Linked DNA regions of Homo sapiens: all the other regions are linked to region 6. Evidence: promoter capture Hi-C in 16 types of primary human blood cells and fetal thymus (Javierre and others, 2016). All regions are on one chromosome and are shown on one strand. Each heading gives the region's core, a stretch centred on a gene start or on the middle of the fragment in contact. The rest is flanking DNA. Distances are from core to core; before and after follow the strand shown.

What was found. The method cuts DNA at HindIII sites, captures the fragments that hold promoters and counts their contacts. A CHiCAGO score of 5 or more calls a contact.
Region 1: the fragment with the promoter of GPBAR1 here is called in contact with the fragment with the promoter of VIL1 in region 6 in 1 of 17 cell types (neutrophils); the score reaches 5.7 in neutrophils.
Region 2: a contact is called between a fragment that was not itself captured here and the fragment with the promoter of VIL1 in region 6, in 1 of 17 cell types (neutrophils). The highest score is 6.5, in neutrophils.
Region 3: the fragment with the promoter of ARPC2 here is called in contact with the fragment with the promoter of VIL1 in region 6 in 6 of 17 cell types (naive CD8 T cells, neutrophils, non-activated CD4 T cells and 3 more); the score reaches 6.4 in naive CD8 T cells.
Region 4: a fragment that was not itself captured here is called in contact with the fragment with the promoter of VIL1 in region 6 in 6 of 17 cell types (fetal thymus, total CD4 T cells, naive CD8 T cells and 3 more); the score reaches 9.0 in fetal thymus.
Region 5: a fragment that was not itself captured here is called in contact with the fragment with the promoter of VIL1 in region 6 in 1 of 17 cell types (erythroblasts); the score reaches 6.6 in erythroblasts.

Annotation. Positions count from the first base shown.
Region 1 is chr2:218,258,790-218,262,474 of GRCh38, forward strand. GPBAR1 (G protein-coupled bile acid receptor 1) reads left to right here and starts at 2,226. Exons shown (of 2, transcript NM_170699.3): 1 at 2,226-2,427. RefSeq lists an enhancer at 2,673-3,478. The HindIII fragment of the contact is 11,967 bases long and covers 1-3,685 here.
Region 2 is chr2:218,187,306-218,191,195 of GRCh38, forward strand. No RefSeq gene overlaps it. Among named protein-coding and RNA genes, the nearest start is that of CXCR1, 22 kb to the left of the region's middle. The HindIII fragment of the contact is 6,006 bases long and covers 1-3,890 here.
Region 3 is chr2:218,215,075-218,218,748 of GRCh38, forward strand. It overlaps ARPC2 (actin related protein 2/3 complex subunit 2), which reads left to right and starts at 2,115. Exons shown (of 11, transcript NM_152862.3): 1 at 2,115-2,180; 2 at 2,389-2,470. The coding sequence starts at 2,397. LOC101928487 (a long non-coding RNA gene) reads right to left here and starts at 2,112. Exons shown (of 2, transcript XR_923908.2): 1 at 1,954-2,112; 2 at 1,027-1,777. RefSeq lists an enhancer at 2,124-2,727 and a silencer at 2,249-2,298. The HindIII fragment of the contact is 6,430 bases long and covers 900-3,674 here.
Region 4 is chr2:218,667,184-218,670,858 of GRCh38, forward strand. RNF25 (ring finger protein 25) reads right to left here. Exons shown (of 10, transcript NM_022453.3): 2 at 1,422-1,496; 3 at 1,056-1,158; 4 at 896-963; 5 at 729-798. Among named protein-coding and RNA genes, the nearest start is that of RNF25, 3.0 kb to the right of the region's middle. The HindIII fragment of the contact is 499 bases long and covers 2,120-2,618 here.
Region 5 is chr2:218,580,995-218,584,722 of GRCh38, forward strand. It overlaps CNOT9 (CCR4-NOT transcription complex subunit 9), which reads left to right. Exons shown (of 8, transcript NM_005444.3): 3 at 1,977-2,092; 4 at 3,618-3,727. Among named protein-coding and RNA genes, the nearest start is that of CNOT9, 14 kb to the left of the region's middle. The HindIII fragment of the contact is 8,800 bases long and covers 1-3,728 here.
Region 6 is chr2:218,417,223-218,420,844 of GRCh38, forward strand. It overlaps VIL1 (villin 1), which reads left to right and starts at 1,901. Exons shown (of 20, transcript NM_007127.3): 1 at 1,901-1,946. The HindIII fragment of the contact is 19,335 bases long and covers 1-3,622 here.

The DNA.
Region 1 (3,685 bases), core at 976-3,475, 160 kb before region 6:
CGGAGTCTCACCACGTTGCCCAGGCCTCAGCCTCTTAAAGTGCTAGGATTACAGGCATTGAGTGTGAAGTGTTGAACAGCGGCTCAGGGAGGCCAACCAGGGTCCAGCAAACCCCGTCCCTGCTGCCTCCATTGGTCCAGAGCTGGTACCCGCAGCCAGCATGACACTCACCCAGTCCCAGACATTGTGGGTCAACAGAGAGAAATTCAGATAGCTAAGAGAATGGAAGCGGACAAAGGAGGCACAGGAGGATTCCATGCCAGAGTCTGAATTGGTCACCCCCATTCAGGCTCTGCCTGAGGAAAGGAGAATGGGGTCCGGGCACAGTCAGCTGGATGGAGCGTCTGAAGACGGCTTGCACCAGAGCCCTCCGTGGCTGAAGGGAGAAGCTAGGGGGTGAGTCAGCCCCAGGGCTTGATGGAACAGACAGGAACTAGATGATCTAGGAAGGGAGAAATGAGGCTGAGCAGGAGACAGCCCAGGCTCCCTGGCTGCCACTACCTAATCTGTCCCCCTTCACACACATCCCACACACAGTGTTTAGACAGAGCAGCAGAGAAGAAACAGACATCCTGGATCCCACAGGGAGCAGGCTGGGGCTGGGAACAGGAGGTCTGTTTATTCCTGGAAGTCACATATCAGAAGGGTCCCACACCCACTTCTGTCCAGGCCCCAGGCTGAACTCTCCCAGAGCCTGTGACTTCTGCCCGACCAGATCCCGTGGTTCTGAGGACCGGCCCTGGAACCCTGCGTCCTTCCGACCCACCAGCTCCCTCGAGGATGGACTTGAGGCTGGATGCTTTCCTCTTCCCACTTTTTGTCCCAACAGAAGTCCCTGATCTCCAGGATCCCTGACTGGCTGTGCAGAGCTGGCACAGCCACACTCCACGGGCTTCCAGCCCTTCAGGCCCAGCTCTCCCGGAGAGCACCAGAGTCCCTTTGCTCCATTTACTTGCGCTCTTCAGCCAGCAAGTGTTTCCTAATGTCTCACCCCCAGTCCCAGCTTTCCTGCTGCAATTTCCGCCTGTTCCCTCCCATTTCAGGCCTTAAGGGAGTGTGGCTGGGCTTCTCTCCTCCCCCTCACTCCAAAGCCGCACTTGATACAAGGTGGAAATCAAAGCACCACTTCTGGCTTCCCAGCCTTGAACTTGCCCTTCCCTCTCAATGTATCTGGTTTCCTCAGCTTCCCTGTGCAGCAAGAGTGTCACTCCCCTCTTGCTTTTCCCAAGCTCCCCATGCGCCCCTCTCAGCAGATCTGTCTTAGAGGGGCCAGGTGCAGAGAAAGGCAGAAATCCTAATAATGTTCCCAGCGATCGCTGCCTGTCGCGGAGTGCTGAAGGGCCAAGTGTTGATCTGAGTCCTCATCACACGGGACTTCATTTAGTCTCACGATAGGTGAGTACAACTATGGGCCCCATTTGACAGATGAGGAAACTAAGGCAAGGGAACTTTAGTCATTTGCCCAAGTTCACTGGCTTTTTTAAAAAAGGATCCAGACAGCTCTGATTCCAGCGCCAGCTCATGCCTCTTCATCATGGGGGAGGAAAGAGAGGGAGCCATTTGTTGGGGCAAACCCCCACCCATCAAGGGCCATGCACTGGGGTATATGCCGCCATATGTGTTATCCTGTGATATTCCCCACCACGACCTTAATTAGAGGTGGTTTTTCTTGTTCCCATTTTAACACAGGCAAAAACCGAGGCCCAGTAGTACCTTACCCATGGTCACATCCCCAGAGCCATTTGTCCCTCATAGTTCAGAACTTGACTCAGAAAGCAGTTGAGAAAAGTGTGGAATGACCCCAGATTCAGGAAGGCAAGTCTGGCCTTAGAAACTGAAAGGCCCATCAGGTGATGGGATGGGGGAGTGAAGATCCTCAGGCCCCAAACACCTGCCACTGCCACCATCACACACGGAAGTGTGGAGGGAGCCTGGTGTGCTGTCAGCTGGCTGGCCAGTCCAGGGGCTTAAATGTAAATGCATCAGCTGAGGCGGGAAGTCGGGAGGGGTAAGTCAATCATTATTATTCATTAACTGGAATGCATTTCTCAGATTACTCCGAGCTGGAGTAGGGAAACTGCCACCTAGGTGGCAGGGGGAGAGGGGAACTGGGTGGGAGGGGGAGGCAGGCCTCCCAGTTGCTGCAGTTTGGAATATGTCAGGTCCCACCCTCCCAGAGGCGGGGCCAGGGCTGAGTCCTGCCAGCCTCATTTCTCTATCCCTCTGAGAACCCAGACGGGCAGAGCCTGGGTAGGAGAGCCTGGCCCCGCTGTCCCCACTGGGTGGAGACACCATGCACTTGGTCCACTTGTGCTCTTCAGCCAGGACACCAGACATGGTCCAAACCGCTGCAGGGCTGGCTGCAGCAACTCCCTGACACTCAGGAAGGCCCAGGCTGGGCAGGCAATACCTGCTCCCAACAGCCATGTGAGTAGCTACTCCCCCAAACCCCCAAACCCCAGATCCTGGAGAGGCTACTACACCCAGCCCAAGCCACCAGACCCTCGGGGGTGTGCAGGTGGTACAGCCTGCACCCTGCTGGGAAATCACCCCTGGGGGCTGCTCCCTGCCTTTGTCGCTGTTCTAGTGGAGGTGGGTTGGGGGGAATCATTCCGATTAGGGCTGGGAGCTCCAGCTCAGGCCAGGTTTGGGGTAATGGACCCTGAGTCTCACGGGACTTAAGAGAGTTGATGATGCCCTGGGAAAGGGAACAGAAACTGCAAGGCCTCTAGAGAGGAAAAGACATCCTGGGTGGAGGGCACTGGAAGAGATTGAGAAAGAGAAAACATGCTTAGGGGAGGGGAAAGGGGGCATAAGGCCTTGGAGGCCCAGGCTCAGGGTGCTGGGGGAACCTGGGAAGGAAGGGGAGCATCTTCCTTCCTCTCAGCTCAGGGCAGCCATGGGGCCCTGATCCCCTGTCCTGGAGGAGGGGAGAGGTATGAATCCTTTCCTTATTGACTTGGATCCTAGCAACAGCAGCTGCTCCCCTGTTGACAGAAGCAGGAGTTCCCACAGGACCCAGGACCCCTCCCCCTGTCCCCAGGATGTGGCAGCAGAGCCATGACACTGGAGGACTGAGACCAGGGAATGACGGGAAGGACAGGGACAGATGAGAGCCACAGAGAAGCCAGACTCTGCCCAGACTCCTCTTCCCTCTCCTCTGGGCTCAGCCTCAGGCCTGGGGGTGTGGGGGAGTCCCTCTCCTTGCTGCTGGCATCTCCACGTTCACTGCCACACGTGCCCTCCAGCTGCTTCTCTCCTCCCTCCAGCTCCCAGGAAGGACCCTGTTGCTAGTGTGGAGCAAAGACGAGTCAAGTTTATGGGCTGGAAGTCCTACCCGGAGGCTGCTCACTGAGCTGTGATGGCTACAAGGACAGATGGGGGGAAGGGTGCAGGGTGCCCGAGACCTGGCCCGCTGGAGCCTGTCACCTAATGGCTGGCTGGAAGACCACTACACACCAGCCAGCCCTGGTCCATTCTCTCATTTAGAGGCCTCCCCGGTGGAGGCAGGGATACACAAAATGCTTTGGGGCTGGATGGGCCCGCCTTTCAGTCTAAACAAGAGACCTCAACACAGCTGCCCAGAAAAGGCAGATACCAGAAATGGATAAAGCTGGCTGGGTGGGGACTGTCCGAAGGGCAGCCAGCAGTGAGCTCCGGCTGGTTGCTACCACACAGGACATAT
Region 2 (3,890 bases), core at 534-3,033, 230 kb before region 6:
GAGTCCATAGCAAGCACCATGTCACAGTTTAACAGGAATGATTTCCTTCCCTGATAACACTCCCTTACATATTCATGAGTCAAGGCTCTAGCAAGTTCTAACAAACTTTTATCTGTCTTTGATGCAGGCTTGCTTATTTTCTCTTACACGTGGCCAGCCGTACCAAGCTCTACCCGATATGGCCCAACCTGCATAGTCAACATTCTGTCTGATGGACTTGGCTGCCAAAGCGGTATCCATGGTTGCAGTAAAAATAAACCTCACAAATGGTGACCAGGGGGCTGGAGGGTGGAGGGGTTCTAGATGGAAACTGGGCAGATGGGAGACAGGTGGGAAGAAGACTCCTTGTGAATAGCTTTTAATTTTTTTTTTTTTGAAACATGTGACATAGTTCCCATTACATATTTTCAATGTTTAAAAAATAATTTTAAAATGTTAAACAGTCATAATTCAACCATGGTGGCAGGAGGTCTGTGGTGCAGCTGAGAAACTGCTCTAAGCTCTGGCATGTGCAGTTGTATGTCTTCTGGCTGCTCTGTCTCAATTTCCACCCACAGAGCCAAGGAAGCCTCCAGCCAATTCCAGGGAGCATCTTTCTGGGCCCTGGGTTTAGAGACCTGTGATTCTCTTTATTCCCTCTGCTCCAGATTCTCCAAATCAGCTCACTTTGGGCTCTCTTGGCCCTGTGTCTTTCCTGTCACTGGTTTGTCAACTGCCTCCACTCAGTGCCTCCCCTTAGCCCTTCCTGTCCTTACGGTTTCTAAATGCAATTCTAATAGCTTCACAAATGTGCTCCTCCACTTTCCTAGGCACCAAGGAAACCTTGACCCACAGGCTTTAATTTTACCCTTGCAGTGAATTCTTATTGACTTTCACTGACCACTGGAACCCACCTACTTGCCCTGAGAACACTCCCATTATCTTTCAATTAAAATAAGACCCTTGATTTATACTTTAATATACATATATCCAGGCTGGGCACAGTGGCTCACCCCTGTAATTCCAGCACTTTAGGAGGTCGAGGCAGGAGGATCGTTTAAGCCCAGGCATTCAAGACCAGCCTGGGCAACACAGTGGAACCTCATACCTCTACAAAGCAATTTTCAAAATTAGCCAGGTGTGGTGGAACACACCTGTGGTCCCAGCTACTCAGGAGGCTGAGGTGGGAGGATTGCTCAAGCCCAGGAGGTCAAGGATGCAATGAGCCATGATCACACCACTGCACTCCAGCCTGGGCAACAGACCAAAACCTTGTCTCAAAAAATAATTTTATATACATATATATACACACATGTATCCAGACTCCTGCTGAAACTACCTCTCCCTGTTCCAATGCCACACATCTAGTTCAGCCTGCAGATGAGTTTCTTTGACTGCCTGGGATTGGTTTCCTTGTTTGTTTAAATTAGAATTGGTTTCTGACTTTTAAACCTTGAGGCTTTTTCACATTTAAAAACATCTGGATTTATACACTCTCCTTTAAAATTTTGAAGATCTGGGCTGGGCGCCATGGCTCATGCCTGTAATCCCAGCTCTTTGGGAGGCCAAGGCGGGTGGATCACCTGAGGTCAGGAGTTCAAGAAGAGCCTGGCCAACATGGTGAAACCCTGTCTCCACTAAAAATATGAAAATTTGCTGGACATGGTGGCATGCACCTGTAATCCCAGCTACTCAGGAGGCTGAGGCGGGAGAATCACTTGAACCCGGGAGGTAGAGGTTGCAGTGAGCCGAGATCATACCATTGCACTCCAGCCTGGGAGACAAAAGCAAAACTCCATCTTAAAAAAAAAAAAAAAAAAAAAAAAAATTGAAGATTTGACAACACTGAGCTCATGGCAAAACTCAGCTAAACCTAGAATGTAAAAGAAATCCTAGAAATAGAGCCACACTTACACCATCACTTGATTTTCAACAGAAGTTCCAAAGCAATCCAGTGAGGGAAAGGAAGGTTTTATCAACAATGTGGGCCAGACACAGTGGCTCACGCCTGTAATCCACGCACTTTGGGAGGCCAAGGCAGGTGGATCACTTGAGGCCAGGAGTTTGAGACCAGCCTGGGCAGCCTGGCGAAACCCCATCTCTACAAAAAATGCAAAAATTAGCCAGGCGTGCTGATATGCACCTATAGTCCCAACTACTCAAGAGGCTGAGGTGGGAGAATTGTTTGAGCCTCGTAGGCAGAGGTTGCAGTGAGCTGAGACCCAGCCTGGGTGAAAGTGAGATTCTATCTGAAAAGAAAAAAAAGAAAGAAAAAGAAAAGAAATCTCATTACACAATCAAACATCACATCACCAGAATGACTAAAAATACAAAAGCATGATAATATCGACTATTAGTGGGTTGTAGTATAGCTGGAATCCTCACATATAATTAGTGGGAATGTAAAATGGTGCAAACACTTTGGTAAAAGGTCTGGCAGTTTCTTCTACTTTCTGACCCAGCAATCCCACTCCTAGGAATATGCCCAAGAGAAATGAAAATAATATGTTCACAAAAATATCAATAGCTTTATTGATAATTGCCAAAAACTAGAAACAGTCCAGGTGTCCATCAATAGGAGAATGGCTAAACATACAGTGGAATAGTCATACAATGGAGTCATTCTCATCAATAAAAAGGACTGAATTACTGATATACTCCACAACATGATGTATCTTAAAAACATTACACTGAGTAAAAGAAGCCTTCCACTTCTATGAAGTTCTAGAACAGGTGAAACTAATCTGAAAATAATCAGAGCAGAAGTTACCTCTGGGAGGATGGAGGCAGAGACAAACCAGCCATGGGGGGACATGAGAGGATTTTTAGGAATGATGGTAATGTTTTCTATATTGATGGGCATTGGGATTACACAGGGGCACCTATTAGTTGAAACTTAGTGAATATACACTTAAGATTTGTGCACTTCATTGTCTACAAATTTTACATCAAAAGAAAACACTAAAGGCCAGGTGCAGTGGCTCACGCCTGTAATCCTAGCACTTTAGGAGGCCAAGGTAGGAGGATCACTTGAGGTCAGGAGTTTGAGACCAGCCTGGCCAACATGGTGAAGCCCCGTCTCTACTAAAAATACAAAAATTAGCAGGGCATGGTGGCGCATGCCTGTAATCCCAGCTACTTGGGAGGCTGAGGCAGGAGAATCACTTGAATTTGGGAGGCGGAGGTTGCAGTGAGCCAAGATCGCACCACTGCACTCCAGTGTGGGCAACAGAGACTCCGTCTCAAAAAAAAAAAAAAAACTATAAACAAATATTGATCTCTAATCAATGATGTACACACTGATGTATTTAGGGAGAAGTATACTGGTGTCCACAGTTACTTTGAAACACATCCAAAAGAATAGATTAATGGCTATAGGGATGGATAATGGATAAATATGAGATAAAGCAGGTAAAATGTTAATGGCAGAATCTAGGTAGTAGATGTACAAGTAGACAGTGAAATTCTGTCAACTTTTCTTTTCTCTTTTTTTTTTTTTTTTTTTTTTGAGATGGAGTTTCACTCTTGTTGCCCAGGCTGGAGTGCGATGGCGTGATCTCAGCTCGCTGCAACCTCTGCCTCCTGGGTTCAAGCAATTCTCCTGCCTCAGCCTCCCGAGTAGTTGGGATTACAGGCATGAGCCACCACACCTGGCTAATTTTTTGTATTTTTAATAGACAGCGTTTCTCCATGTTGGTCAGGCTGGTCTCAAACTCCTGACCTCGGGTGATCCACCCACCTCGGCCTCCCAAAGTATTGGGATTACAGGCGTGAGCCACTGCGCCAGGCCCAACTTTTCTTTATGTTTAAAATTGTTCACAATAACATGTTGGGGCTATCAGCTGGCATTGTCTTGGCCAACTTCTTTAACCTGTAACTGGTTGCCACACTTTCTACCCCTCCTTGCCTCA
Region 3 (3,674 bases), core at 865-3,364, 200 kb before region 6:
AAAGAAAGAAAGAAAGAAAAAGACAGAGAGAGAAAGAAAGAAAGAAAGAAAGAAAGAAAGAAAGAAAGAAAGAAAGAAAGGGATTATGAAGGTAAATATCAGGATGAATTTGTGAAAGAGTTGAGCATATTGCCTCCAAAGAGTAGGACAGGGAACTGCTTTTTTCATTACAAGCCTTTTAGTATTATAAGCATACATATTTTAAACAATTTATAAACATTATTTTAGTTCAATAGTCATTAATGTTACAAAGCTAGCTTATCGGTCGGGCATGGTGGCTCACGCCTGTAATCCCAGCACTTTAGGAGGCTAAGGCAGGTGGATCACTTGAACCCAGGAGTTTGAGACCAGCGTGCCCAATACGGCCAAACCCCGTCTCTACAAAATATACAGAAATTAGCCCAGCTTGGTGGTGCATGTCTATAGTCCCAGCTATTTGGCAGGCCGAGGCAGGAGGATCACCTGAGCTCGGGAGGCGGGCAGTGAGCAGAGATAGCAACGTCACTCCAGCTTGGGTGACAAGAGTGAGACACCATCTCAAATTAAAAAAAAAAAAAAAAAAAGGCCGGGCATGGTGGCTCACGCCTGTAATCCCAGCACTTTGGGAGGTCGAGGCAGGAGGATCATGATGTCAGGAGTTCGAGACCAGCCTGACCAACATAGTGAAACCCCGTCTCTACTAAAAATACAAAACATTAAAAGGGCATGGTGGCAGGCACCTTTAATCCCAGCTATTTGGGAGGCTGAGGCAGGAGAATCGCTTGAACCGGGGAGGCAGAGGTTGCAGTGAGCCGAGATCATGCCATTGCACTCCAGCCTGGGCAAGAGTGCAAGACTCTGTCTCAAAAAAAAAAAAATTTAAGTTAGCGTATAATTTTAGGGGATCAGCAATATCCTGAAGCTTATCCATAGCCCGTTAAGTAATGTTTCAAAGGGCTATCTGTGCCTTAATGATAGGAGCTAGTTTCTTGTTCATTTTTTTATCCCCATCCCCAAACACATAGCAGAAAATAAATTATTTCCTTGTATGTAGAACGGACTCAGCTAAGTTTATTATATTCTCCCCGGAGGAGGGAAAACACAAAACAAGGCACAAAGGCAGAAGGTGCAGATGTAGCACAACGATGAGTTAAGATTCCGCACGCAGGTAACAAGGAGGGTATGGTATATCTCTGCCAGAGGTACTGGAAGGTTTCAAAGGCAGAAAAAAATGTGTTCCGGACACCTGGACGCAGAATTGGAGGCATGACAGGAACACAGGGAGGCCCATCTAAGTTGCCTATTCACCCAGGTGACCTCTCTTTCATTTCTTTAATTGTCCTTTTAACAATATGGGGAATTTCACCCAAGGAAAGGGTCCTCTTCTCGCCCCAGCAGGCAAGGGGTGTTCCTCCAGCGCAAGTTCCGGCCCCAGCTGCCCCCACGTCCCACAGGTCTCCTGCCTTTTGGCACGCACACTCCTGACCACTCGCTGCTTCCGCATCCCTACTCTGATCCTCTCCCCATGCATCTCTGCCTCCTTAGACAACTGAGAATTTTATTGTCTGTTTCCTTTGCCAGACTGTAAGTTCCACGAGGGCAGGGCCTCGTCCATTTCATTTACCACTACATCCCCAGTATAGAGCAAGAGCCCATGAAAATGTTTGTTGGAGAAATGAATGCATGATGGTGTCGCTGGACAGCTATACCTGGAAAGAAAAAGAGGCACCCCCATCAAACAAGCTGGGAGCTAAGAAGCCCGCTGGGAGACGACAAGGGCGAGCTTCTTGCGAGGTTTCTGAAATGACAAGACCGGAAGAATGGAGTTGGATCTCTGGGACAAGCGGGAGAGAGAAGCTGAACAGTCAGGCAAGCCTCGGGGAATGACAGCTCCGCGGGGGACGCACTGGTAGGCGGTAGACGTAAGCGGGGTCGGTGGGAAAGTAGACGGTGGGGCGGCGGCATCACACATACGCAAGCGCAGCCTCCGTTTCCTCCGGCGCGCCTGCGCTCGCGTTCACGAGTGGTTGAAGCGGAAATGGCGCCGCGGGGCCGCGCGTCCAGGCGGCGAGCGGAAGTGGGTGTGAGAGCGGAAGTGGCCGGCTAGAGCCGGGGGCTGGGCGGGGACCGGGCTTGTCGGTGAAGCGGCAGTGGCGGCGGCGGCGGCGGCTCGGCAGGCGGGTTCAGGCTTCGGGGGCCAGGTCGGTTGGGTGGGTGGGTGTCTCCACAGTCTGCGTGCGTGGGCCAGCGCGTTCGTCTTACCCTTCCCTCCACCCCGGCCCCTCTCCCCTTCTCCCCTAACCTCCTACCCCACCCAGCCCCACTCAGGGGGCAGCAGGGCCGCTCCCTCCGTCCTTGCCTCCCTTACCCACCCTCACCGGCCCTTGTTTCTCCTTCCCCTGGGGGCAGCCGCCGCCATGATCCTGCTGGAGGTGAACAACCGCATCATCGAGGAGACGCTCGCGCTCAAGTTCGAGAACGCGGCCGCCGGGTGAGCGCGCGCCCGGGGCCGGGGGTGGCGGGGGAAGCAGAGTTGACCCCAGCTAATCCCCAATGTTGTCCAGTCCCCCAGACCTGGAGGAGAGAAATGGGGTGCCTGGCAGGGTGTAGGGGCTGCCCCAGCGGGGTAGACGTGGGAGGCGATTGGGCGCGGCCGGGCGAGGGGCAGAGATGCGTGGGGAGAGGCTCAGAGGAGGGATGCGGAAGCAGCGAGTGGTGAGGGCTGTGCGTGCCAAAGGGCAGGAGACCTGTGGGACGTGGGGGACCCTGGAGCCGGAACTCGCTCCGGAGTAGCCCCCTGCCCTCTGGGGCGAGAAGGGGACCCCTTCCCTGCGTGAAATTCCCCGGCATTGTTCTGAACCCAGAGAGAGCCTGTTTGGAATTGGGTTGGAAGGAGTTTTCAGGAATTCCCAGGACTGGAGGAGGGAAGGAGATGCAGGCCCACATCGCCACCAGCATTCTCGTTCCCCACCCCCATCTCCTTTAAAAGGAGCAGAAGAGAAGACTAAAAGCCGACCCAGTCTTAGAGCCGGAAAAACGCGATCTCTGGTTTCCCTTCCCCGAACCCTTCTGTGAGAGACACTGGGCCATTTTGTTACATATTTTTAAAGCAAAGCCAATTGTCCCTCGCTCCACACCCCTTCCTTATCTCTCCTTTGAGGTTCTAATGCTCTCTCCTCACCCACTAGCCTTTATCTGGTTATCTTGTAAATTCTTACATCAAGACCCTAGGTCTGTGATTTCTTCTGTGGTAGCCCTGGCCCAGTTACACACTTCAAAGACTCCAGAATCTATAAAGTTCTTAGATAACCTGTCTTTACGATTGGACTTTTTAAAAGATGGGCTTAGGGCATCTTTCCAAGGCAGCCTCTCTGCCAAACACAAGAATCAGTAGAAGACAATCTGCTCCTCCAAAGCTGCTTTGCTTTTCTAGTATAATATTTAAAACATGAGCTAAGGATTTTGGGTTCTAATTTTTGGTGGCCTGTGGCCAGTCCCTTTGCCTCATTTCCCTATGTATGAGCATGGGGCTTCACATCTGGGTTTCACAGTTAATAAGTGCAGACCGTTTCTGGTGAACTGGGAACTAGTAATAGGAAAGTGCTTGCAGATCCACAGATGGGAGAAGATTGGTAGAGGGGAATTTTTAAGTGGTCATAATGTACTTGTGGCTTGGAGGCATTAGAAAGTATTAA
Region 4 (3,675 bases), core at 1,119-3,618, 250 kb after region 6:
AAAATTAATAAATAAACAAACTAGGGGAAAATAAAACTGTACTTAATTTTATATTTTTAATCTCAAACAATAAAAGTTTTCTGTGTATATTGGAGCTTCAGGTGTTGCTTCATGTGGGTTGTTTCATCAAGCAGTGTATAAGCTCTTTCAGTAAAGGAACCATGACTTTTTCTTTTTTTTTTTTTTGAGATGGAGTCTCACTCTGTTGCCCAGGCTGGAGTGCAGTGCATGATCTTGGCTCCCTGCAATCTCCGCCTCCCGGGTTCAAGCGATTCTCCTTCCTCAGCCTCCCAAGTAACTGGGATTACAAATGCCCGCCACCGTGCCTGGCCAACCATGACTTTTTCTAGTCAGGTCCAATGGCAGTCTAGCCTTCAAATGTTCATTTATGGCTAAGACGCCCCCAAGCAAGATGCGTATCTTTTGCCACTTTCAGTTGCCAGTGCCAAGAGAACAAGACATATACTGAAACTGATGCAAGAAAAATTCAAGGTGAAGAGGAAAAGTCATTTTCTGTCAAGATGCTGGCATAGGCAACTTGGAGAAGCTACTGAACTGTCTTTTGGGAAGTTTTTCAAATAGAAGAGTCTCATTTCTCTGGATTAATTTAGGCCTTACCTAATGACTCCAGATCCGTTTAAGATTCTAGGCCCATGGTTTCCCTTTTACAGCTAGAAACTGCTCTAGCTTGAAGGAAAGAACATATCTCAGACTAGCGCACCTCTTACCTCAATGAGTTCATACAGCATGGCAGTGCCCAGCCCAGCCTTGGCCACGTGGCCCAGCACCTGTAAGATCCTGGAGGAAGAGGGCAAACCAAATATTAGACCTGCCCATTTCTGTCACCGGGCAAAGCTGTAGCTGAGTTTTCCCTGTTCTGACAGGTTCAACTTACGTGTGGATCTGTTCATCTGAAAGTCCTCGGGGATTTCGGATAGAGATCTGTGGCACCTCATGGGGATACTAGTGGGGGCAAATAACAAGTTACTGCTGAAGCGGTCCACCCCAGGGACTCTCCCCTTCCTCCCTTTGCTGCCACACAGTAGGGGCTTCACCTCTGCTGGGACCTGAAGCACCAGAGTGAAGCAGACATACTGTGAATCCTGGTCCTCTGCAGTGGCAGGATGCAAAGTGATGTAGATCTCCCATGGTGAAGTTCTGCAGGTGGATCAAGTGGACACGCAGATGTGACTGGGTAGGGGCTTGGGGGCTGGGGAGGATGGGGCTGAGACAGTGAAGTGGGCAAAGGAAGTACACATTGGACTCTTTCTTTTGGGGTAGGATTAAAGGAATAGCTTTTGTCTACACAAGAGAAATATTATCTCTGAATCAAGGCTCACAATGTCTTAAGACCCAAATTCAGCATAGAACCTCTCCTCATTACTAGGGGGACTCCTGCCCACCACTGGTTGAATACATACCTGCCATTTCCTTTAATCACCTGTAGTTCATCTAGATAGATGGACTCCAATACTTCAACTTCAGAGGGAAGGACCCTAGAGAGACAGGAGTAGACTAACTTACCATTACAGCTCTCCCTGTGGAAGCCTGCTAAGGCCAATAAAGGCAGGCTTTGTAGAAAAATGGCAATCTACCAGAATGCATTCTCCTGCTAAACTCCTTAAAAACAAGGAATATGTTACCTTAAGTTGTCAACTGGCCAAATAGAAGGCATGGAAATCAGAATTTTAGGCATCATTTCTGCCAACAGATGAAGAAGTGGATTCTAGAGAAGTAAAATGACTAACCAAGGCTTAACATAGGTAGAACTAGGCCCAGAGCCAGGTTTCCTGACTCCCTGTTTAAGTTTCATTCCCCTTAGTGGCTGAATCTCTGGTCTAGAGATATGGCACTCATTCATTAGCATTAACGTTACCAATATTACTCCAACCTTTCCCTACGTCACTGTCCAGTGTGGATCCCAGTGCCTTGGCTACTGTCTACATACAGTTTTAACACCAGTCACCCTAAGCCTTCTTAAAGGAGATAGCAACCTCAACACAACATATTTAGGGTGGTATAAAGGCTGTGTTGTAATGGAAGAGCCAGCAGCCTCGGAGTTAGTTAACAGGTACCAATCACTTACAAGCTATGCAATCTGGGACGTGACCTCTCTGTAAGCTTAAGTTATCCTGTCTGTCACATATAGATAATAACACCTACTCTCTAGGGTTATTGTGAGGATAAAAGGTGATTTGTTTACATAAAGTACCTAATAGTATCTGGGCTATCGTAGCTAGTCTACGTCCTCTTTTTTTCCTGTCTGTATATAACCTTCTCCCTTAGAAGGAAAGAGGGAAGGAAGGAGGTAATAGAGTACTCTGGATGTATTTATGACCTGGCTGTCTGGTTGATCTAGATCAGCCTGTTGAGGTTAGGATCCATGGTTCTGATGTAAATCAAGGGACACACATACTTAAGCATAGAAACAGCAGTTGTAATGAAATTGAAGCTGAGTGATCAGTTTGTGTCTACAGCTCTACCAAGTGATACATGGAAAAATGCACACTTTGCTTTCTCACACTGCTCCCTCTTCATTCTAAGAGTAAGGCTGCCCCAGCACGACCTATGTCAGTGTTGTTAAGTCTTAGGCAGAAACTTCAAAATATAAAATATAAAGCTTCACACCTCACAGATAACAGTGTAGTTCTGGCTGACATGGGAGTGGGAGTCTCACAGTACTACAGGCTGCTGCACTCATTGTTGCTGTCTCCATGGCTCAAGGTGTCTCCCCTGAATCTTAAAAGTTCCCCTGAACAGGTAAACTGTAAGTTATCCCAGCGCTTTGGGAGGCTGAGGTGGGAGGATCACTTGAGGCCAGGAGTTCGAGACCAGCCTGGGCAACAAAGCGAGACACTATCTCTACAAAAAATAAAAAATTAACTGGACACGGTGGTCCCAGCTACTTGGGAGACTGAGGCAGAAGAATCACGGGAGCCCAGGAGGTCGAGGCTGTAGTGAGCCATGATCTTGCCACTGTACTCCAGCCTGGGTGACAAAGTAAGACTCTGTCTCTTAAAAAAAAAAAAAAAAAAGAAGTTTCCCTGAACACTTTGAAAACCAGTAGTCTAGATACTCTTAATAACGGCCAGTACTAGCTGGGCTCCCTGAACCAATGTAACATTGAGGTGTAGCCTCAGTCAAGTGGCCCTTCAATACTTCGCCCACCCTAGTTATATGGGTCCTGGATGGGATGGTGGTAAGGTGGTGACAACAAAATGGGGGAGGGGGGCCGGGCGCGGTGGCTCAGGCCTGTAATCCCAGCACTTTGGGAGGCTGAGGCGGGTGGATCATGAAGTCAGGAGATAGAGACCATCCTGGCTAACAGGGTGAAACCCCGTCTCTACTAAAAATCACAAAAAATTAGCTGGGTGTGGTGGCGGGCGCCTGTAGTCCCAGCTACTCGGGAGGCTGAGGCAGGAGAATGGCATGAACCCGGGAGGCGGAGCTTGCAGTGAACCGAGATTGCGCCACTGCACTCCAGCCTGGGCGACAGAGCAAGACTCCGTCTCAAAAAAAAAAAAAAAAAAAAAAAAAATTGGGGGAGTGGGGACTGAAGAATGTCCTAGTACAAAGAATCTAAGGTGTGGAGTCAGACAGATATGGATTTCTATTCATAATTTTCTATCTTTTGGCAAATCACTTTACTTCTTTGGGACTCATCTAGTCTTCCCA
Region 5 (3,728 bases), core at 496-2,995, 160 kb after region 6:
GTGATTGTGATGCAAGTGATCTAAGAACTACGCTTTGACGAACACCGCTTTAGGAGTACTGTAAGATAAATCTACATGACAGGGGGAGGAAGGTGGAAAGTAGAGTATAAGGACCACAAGGTACAATATATTCTATGGAAAAGAAATGGGTTTTTGGGTTTTTTTGTTTGTTTTTCTTTTTTTTTTTTTTTTGAGACGGAATCTCGCTCTGTCGCCCAGACTAGAGTGCAATGGTGCAATCCCGGCTCACTGCAACCTCTGCCTCCCGGGTTGAAGTGGTTCTCCTGCCTCAGCCTCCTGAGTAGCTGGGATTATAGGCCTGCATCACCATGCCTGGCTTTTTTTTTTTTAATTTTTAGTAGATACGGAGTTTCACCATGTTGGTCAGGCTGATCTTGAACTCCTGACCTCGTGATCCACCCACCTTGGCCTCCCAAAATGTTGAGATTACAGGCATGAGCCACCATGCCTGGCCTGGAAAGGAAATGTTGAAGGTATAACAGCTGTAGTATTAAAGGTGGGTACACTTGTACATTAAAGAATAGATAACTGAAGTTCAGTTCAAACCAGAATGGTCACTGGTGGCTAATTAACTGATATGGTACAATAACAATACCAAAATACCTAGGTAGTGGCATGATCATCCATTAAAGTATTGCCCCAAATTCCTAACAATTAGATTAACTTTTCAACTCTTAAGTAAATTCACATTCCATCTCTATTGCATTTAGCCAAGAAACTGATCTTTGTTATGGGAACGTTTTTCTATGTAAAAGTTTTACAAATAATGTAAATGGAAAATTGTAGCCAGGTGCAGTGGGTCATGCTTGTAATCCCAGCAGTTTGGCAGACTGAGTTAGGAGGATTGCTTGAGCCCAGGAGTTTGAGACCAACCTGGGCAACATGGCGAAACACCATTTCTACAAAAAATACAAAAATTAGCCAGGCTTGGTGGTACACTCCTGTAATCCCAGCTACTTGGGAAGCTGAAGTAGGAGGATCAATTGAGCCCAGGAGGTGGAGGCTGCAGTGAGCCATGATCATGCCACTGCACTCTGCCTGGATGACAGAGTGAGACCCTGTCTCAAAAAAAAAGAAAAAAAATGTAAATGGAATTGTATTGAGTAAATCATTACTTTTTGACAGATAGTGCATATATTCACTGCTGTTTATACATATCCCCACCCATTGATTCATGTCCTTACCATGTTACTACCTAACCAAATTCAAACTTCTTTATGAGTCACCGTGGTTGACTTAACACTTTCTGGCCAGTGATCTCATCACTGTAACTTAAAGCAGGATGCTAGCAAAATTATAAAAATTTGAGTATCCCTCAACTGATAGCCTCAGTAGCTGGAGAATATAAGAGGAAGTGTAGATGACTACATTTGCCTCCACAGAAATCTTCCTAGGCCGGGCGCAGTGGCTCACGCCTGAAATCCCAGCACTTTGGGAGGCCGAGACGGGCAGATCACGAGGTCAGCAGATCGAGACCATCCTGGCTAACACGGTGAAACCCCATCTCTACTAAAAATACAAAAAATTAGCTGGGCGTGGTGGCAGGCGCCTGTAGTCCCAGCTACTCTGGAGGCTGAGGCAGGAGAATGGTGTGAACCTGGGAGGCAGAGCTTGCAGTGAGTCAAGATCGTGCCACTGCACTCCAGCCCGGGTAACAGAGCGAGACTCCGTCTCAAAAAAAAAAATCTTCCTAGAGACAAATGTAGAAATGTGAGTCTCAAAAAAAAAAATCTTCCTAGAGACAAATGTAGAAATGTCTTAGCTAGTCTCAGCCAAGTAAGTTTGTGATGAAAGGATATGAGCATTATTTCTGCTCCCTCTTTGATGACTGAGTTCTTAAAAGATGCACAGAATTAAGAGCTATTTTATTTGCCTTTTTTTTTTTTTGCTTTATTACCATGGGAATTAATTTTTAGTTATTCCTTATTCATCTGATGCTGATTTCCATTTTTTAGGAAATTGTAAATATTTATCCATCTATCAACCCACCCACCTTGACAGCACACCAGTCTAACAGAGTTTGCAATGCTCTGGCATTACTGCAATGTGTAGCATCACATCCAGAAACCAGGTAAATGCTTTGGGTGAGTCACTTGGGGGAGATATACATTGAATATGGTCCTAAACGTTCTCTGAATAATAAAAGGAAGGGCATGGAGGAGAGAGAGAGAGAACGTTTGTGTGTGTGTGTGTGTGTGTGTGTGTGTGTGTGTGTGTGTCTCTCTCTCTCTCTCTCTCTCTCTCTCTCTCTCTCTCTCTCTCTCTCTCTCTCCTGGTCTTCCGGATTCTTATTTACTTTTACCCAATGAACTTTAAAGAAACAGTGTTCACATTACAGGAAAGGTATCAGGCATACAGCTACTTCTCACTCCCTGACCTGTTATTGACACTATGTCATCTGTGAGGCATAGTGCATGGCATATAAGAGGAGTTTAGTAATTATTTTTCCAGCACTTTTCCCACACTGAACCCAGATTTGACTTCAGAATCCTTCTTAACATAGCATTCTGGGCGGCCTCTATAATAGACGAGAATTGGCATGTAAGTTAAAATATTTTTGCCACCTGTCATATCTAAAAAATTAAGAAAAGGGAAATCCTGTTCAGGAATCTACTTTGTGGGCTTTTATGGCCCCAAAGGCACTTAATAGTCATCTTATTAAAGCCTTTCCTCTTTGTCAAGTTTCCTTATGAAATATGTATGCTAGGTTGGCACTGACCTTACACAGCTTTAGAGAAATTACTAAGAAAATTACTTTTAAGCACTTAACAAAAACACAAGAGTACTTTGAGTGTTAAAAATCTTGGGCGTTGGCTCTTCTACAAGGTGTAACTATAAATAATATAAAATAATAGACTGATTTCCTTATTAGTTGCCTGACTAAACTGTTTTCAGAATGGTTTGTGTATCTGAAATGCCCTAACAAAAAAAGAAGAATGTGCTTATTAAAGTATAGCAGGTAAGCCTGATAATGGCTGCTTTGTTTTGTTGTATTGGTTTGTAAGGTTTATTCGACTGCACCTGTGAATACTATTATTCAGTCATAGGTGAGGGAGATAATCTAGGACAATCTCTTGGACACTTAATAGCATTTTGTGGTCTATTTTTTAAAATCCACAATTGGATATTTTAAGTTAATCAGTTTGTAAGGTACTTTTTGCTGATTACAGGGAAAATCATGTGTTTTCTTAACCACTGTGATCTGGACTAGGGTTTTCAGCTTTGGCACCATTACCATTTGGGGCTGGATGAATCTTTGTGATGGAAAGGAGAGGGCAGGAGAGGACTGTCCTGTGCATTGTAGGATGTTTAATGGCATCTCTGGCCTCTTCCCACTGGATGCCAATAGTGCTTCATAATCCTGAGTTGTGACAATCAAAGATGTCTCCAGACATTGCCACATGTCCTCCAGGGGGCAAAATTTACCCCATTTGAGAACCATTGGTTGAGACTAATGACCAGTAACATTGTTTTCCTAAGGATTCCTTGCTCTGACAATGTTAAGGCCTTACAGAATTAACCACCTAGAAATTTGAAAGTTCAGGATCCTTAGAAATCAACCCTGGGCTGTGAATGTAATTATTGTTTTCTTCCAGGTCAGCGTTTCTCGCAGCACACATCCCACTTTTTTTGTACCCCTTTTTGCACACTGTCAGCAAAACACGTCCCTTTGAGTATCTCCGGCTCACCAGCCTTGGAGTTATTGG
Region 6 (3,622 bases), core at 651-3,150:
AAGAGTAGCGATGCTGGCAATTTGGAAGTGCCAAAAAGAAGCCATAAAATGTTTCCTTTAAATGAAAAGGTAATAGTTCTCAATAAGGAAAGAACAAAAAACATCATATACTGAGGTTGCTAAGATCTATGATAAGAATGCATCTTCTGTTCATGAAATTGTGAAGAAGGAAACAGAAATTTGTGTTAATTTTGCTGGTGTACCTCAAACTGCAAAATGCAGCCACAGTGCAGGATAAGTGCTAATGAAAATAGAAGGGGCTTCAATTTGTGGGTGGAAGACACGAACAGAAACATGCTCCAGCTGATGGCAGCCAGGTTCGGTACGATCCGAGGTTTTAAGGCATCCACTGCGGGTCCTGGAATGTATCCCCCGTTGGATAAGGGGGGGACTACTGTACATTTGGTCTCCAGAACTCTTGGGAGGCTGTGATGAGAAGGACGTACTGCCCTCACCCAGCCCACTTCACGTCACCCTCCTAAGGACCAGGCTTCACAGGTGATAGGAGAATTTCTGCAGTCTGGGAGGCAGCTGCCCAAGGTGCTGAGTTTGCGTGTGAAGCTGGTTTCTCAGCGAGATCCACGCTGGAGTTGGCTGCACAACTTTCCTGCCTGAGTGAGATGGATCCCCTAGGGTCAGGGGTCAGACATGGAAACCTTGGCTTCTGGGAGAGGGTAGCAGAACAGAGTTCAAAGGCACTGGTTTATGGCATCTCATAAAAACTCCAGGTGGGCCGGGTGCAGTGGCTCACGCCTGTAATCCCAGCACTTTGGGAGGCCGAGGTGGGCGGATCACGAGGTCAAGAGTTCAAGACCAGCCTGGCCGACATGGTGAAACCCCGTCTCTACTAAAAATACAAAAATTAGCTGGGCGTGGTGGTGTGCGGCTGTAATCCCAGCTACTCGGGAGGCTGAGGCAGGAGAATCACTTGAACCCAGGAGGCGGAGGATGCAGTGAGATGAGATCACGCCACTGCACTCCAGCCTGGGCGACAGAGACAGACTCCATCTCAGCAAAAAAAACGAAAACAAAAAAAACACTCCAGGTGGAGCCAGTGCCCCTAAGGGTGGAGAGGAGGAGCAGTTGTGCTCACTGGGGCCCTTGCTAAGTGAGGGTCATGCTGAGAAGAGACCTCTAGGAGACCTCTAAGAGACCTCCCATCTGTTCTGGAGGGGCCCTGAGTATAAGTCCCTGCATTCCTGGGTTTGGGGCTTCTGCAACCCTAGAGTCCTGCCTCTCTTTCTCCATGAACCATTCACCCCAGGGCAGGTGGGAGGACAGCTGAGCCTCCTTCTCTTGGTTGGTAGGAGGAAAGGTTCAGGCGCCGCTGACCCTACCTGGACAGTGCTGTCTGCCTGTGGTGAGGGCCTGGGCCCTGGGCAGAAAAGCACCCCATCCCTTGCTCACTCAGAAGCCAAGGGAGGGGCTGGGCGCCGGGCCTCACACCTGTAATCCCAGCACTTTGGGAGGTCGAGGCAGGTGGATCATTTGAGGTCAGGAGTTCAAGTCCAGCCTGGCCAACATGGTGAAACCCTGTCTCTGCTAAATATACAAAAATTAGCCAGGCATGGTGGCACATGTCTGTAGTCCCAGTTACTTGGGAAGCTGAGGCAGGAGAATCACTTGAACTTGGGAGGCGGAGGTTGCAGTGAGTCGAATTCATACCACTGCACTCCAGCCTGAATGACAGAGTGAGGCTCAAAAAAAAAAAAAAGCCAAGGGTGGGGCACATCAGCTCTCATTGTCAGGCTGTGGAGGGCTCTGGGCTCCCAGGGACCTGGCAGCACCTGCCTCCCCACCCCCTCACCTCTCTGGGGCCCTATCTTCCCTTATATGGTGAAGGCAGTTCCTAGAGGAGGGGGGGTGGGGACAAAGGTCGCTCTTCTGCAGCCAGCTTGCCACAATTCCCTGAGATCTCCCAGGTGGCAGCTGCCTCCCCAAGACAGGTAAGGCAACCTGGTGGGAACACATGGAGACCTTAGGTGGTGCGAGGGGACGGGGTCCTCTGCTTTTCTCGGGCAACTTGGGGCCTCCTGGAGCACCTTGGTACGGGCTCGAAGGGGAGGCTTGACACTCTGGATAGCGTGAGAAGTGCTGGGAGCCCAGTGTGTCTGCCCTGGGCCTCCAGGGAGAGACTTTTGCAGGCCCTGCCCCAGACAATGGCTCTCTCAGTCTCCTACCTGTGGCTAGCCCCATCCCACTTTGGGTGTCACCATCCCAATTGCCCTGGAACTTCTAGAGTTAAAACCAGGACAGTGCTGGGCAGACCGGGACTAGTTGGTCTCCCTGACCTCACTCCCCGAGCCCCCTCCCCACCAGCTCATCTCTTTGCCCGTGCGTTCTTCATCTGAAGTGTTTTTTTCTTTGTGTCACCATTCCTCTGACACTCCTGGGACCTCCGGGTCCTGCCTCCTGGCTCCTAGCATATGAGCAACAGCCACCAGCAATTGAATGGGCACACACAGAGGCAAGGGCAGAGGCAAGGGGCTGGAGGTGGCAGGGCCTTAGGTCCTGGGCCATGCCGGGCCACCCTAGCATGCACCTCTGCCCCATCTCCCCTCTACCCGGAGCTGCCCCATTGGCCTCCCCAGCCACTGTGGGCCCATTCAGCAGAACTAGGAATGGGAGCTAGCTGCAGACCAGGCTCTGAGGACACACTGGCTGCTGTCTTCTCGGGACATCATCTGCTGGGGCAGAGCCTTTGGGCTGGAGGGTCTTGGCGGGTGTCCATTCCCTCTTCTATCATGAGCCTGGGAAGCAGGAGGATGTCCTTTGTCTGAGGGGTGGGACTTCACCCCCACTGCCCCACCACATTCCTGTCCAGCTCAGAGCTGCACGACTGGGAACTAGGAGCCGTGGCAGCACCCCACTTACAACAGAGCCGCAACTCAAGTACAACAGGGCTCAGATAAGAAAGGCATGGTGGGCCAGGTGCAGAGCCTCATGCTTGGAATCCCAGCACTTTGGGAGGCCAAGTGGGGTGGATCACTTGAGGTCAGGACTTCAAGACCAGCCTGACCAACATAGTGAAACCCCGTTTCTACTAAAAATACATAATTAGCTGGGTGTGCTCGCGCACGCCTATAGTCCCAGCTACTCGGGAGGCTGAGGCACGAGAATCGCTTGAACCCAGGAGGCGGAGATGACAGTGAGCCAGAATTGCACCATTGCACTCCAGCCTGGGTGACAGAGTGAGACTCTGTCTCAAAAAAAAAAAAAAAAAAAGAAAAGAAAAAAAGAAAAAAGAAAGAAAGGCAAGATGGACCTGCAGACAGTGGGAGCCCAAACCCCTCCAGTGCCCTGGGAGGGTCCTCCTTCCATCCCACAGTTCAGCCTTTCAGCATCATGAGTATTTGTTTTTTTTTTTTTTGTTTTTTTTTTGAGAAGGAGTCTCACTCTTTCATCCAGGCTGGAGTGCAGTGGCGTGATCTCAGCTCACTGCAGGCTCCACCCCCTGGGTTCACGCCATTCTCCTGCCTCAGCCTCCCGCGTAGCTGGGACTACAGGCGCCCACCATCTCGCCCGGCTAATTTTTTGTATTTTTAGTAGAGACAGGGTTTCACCGTGTTAGCCAGGATGGTCTTGATCTCCTGACCTCGTGATCCGCCTGCCTCGGCCTCCC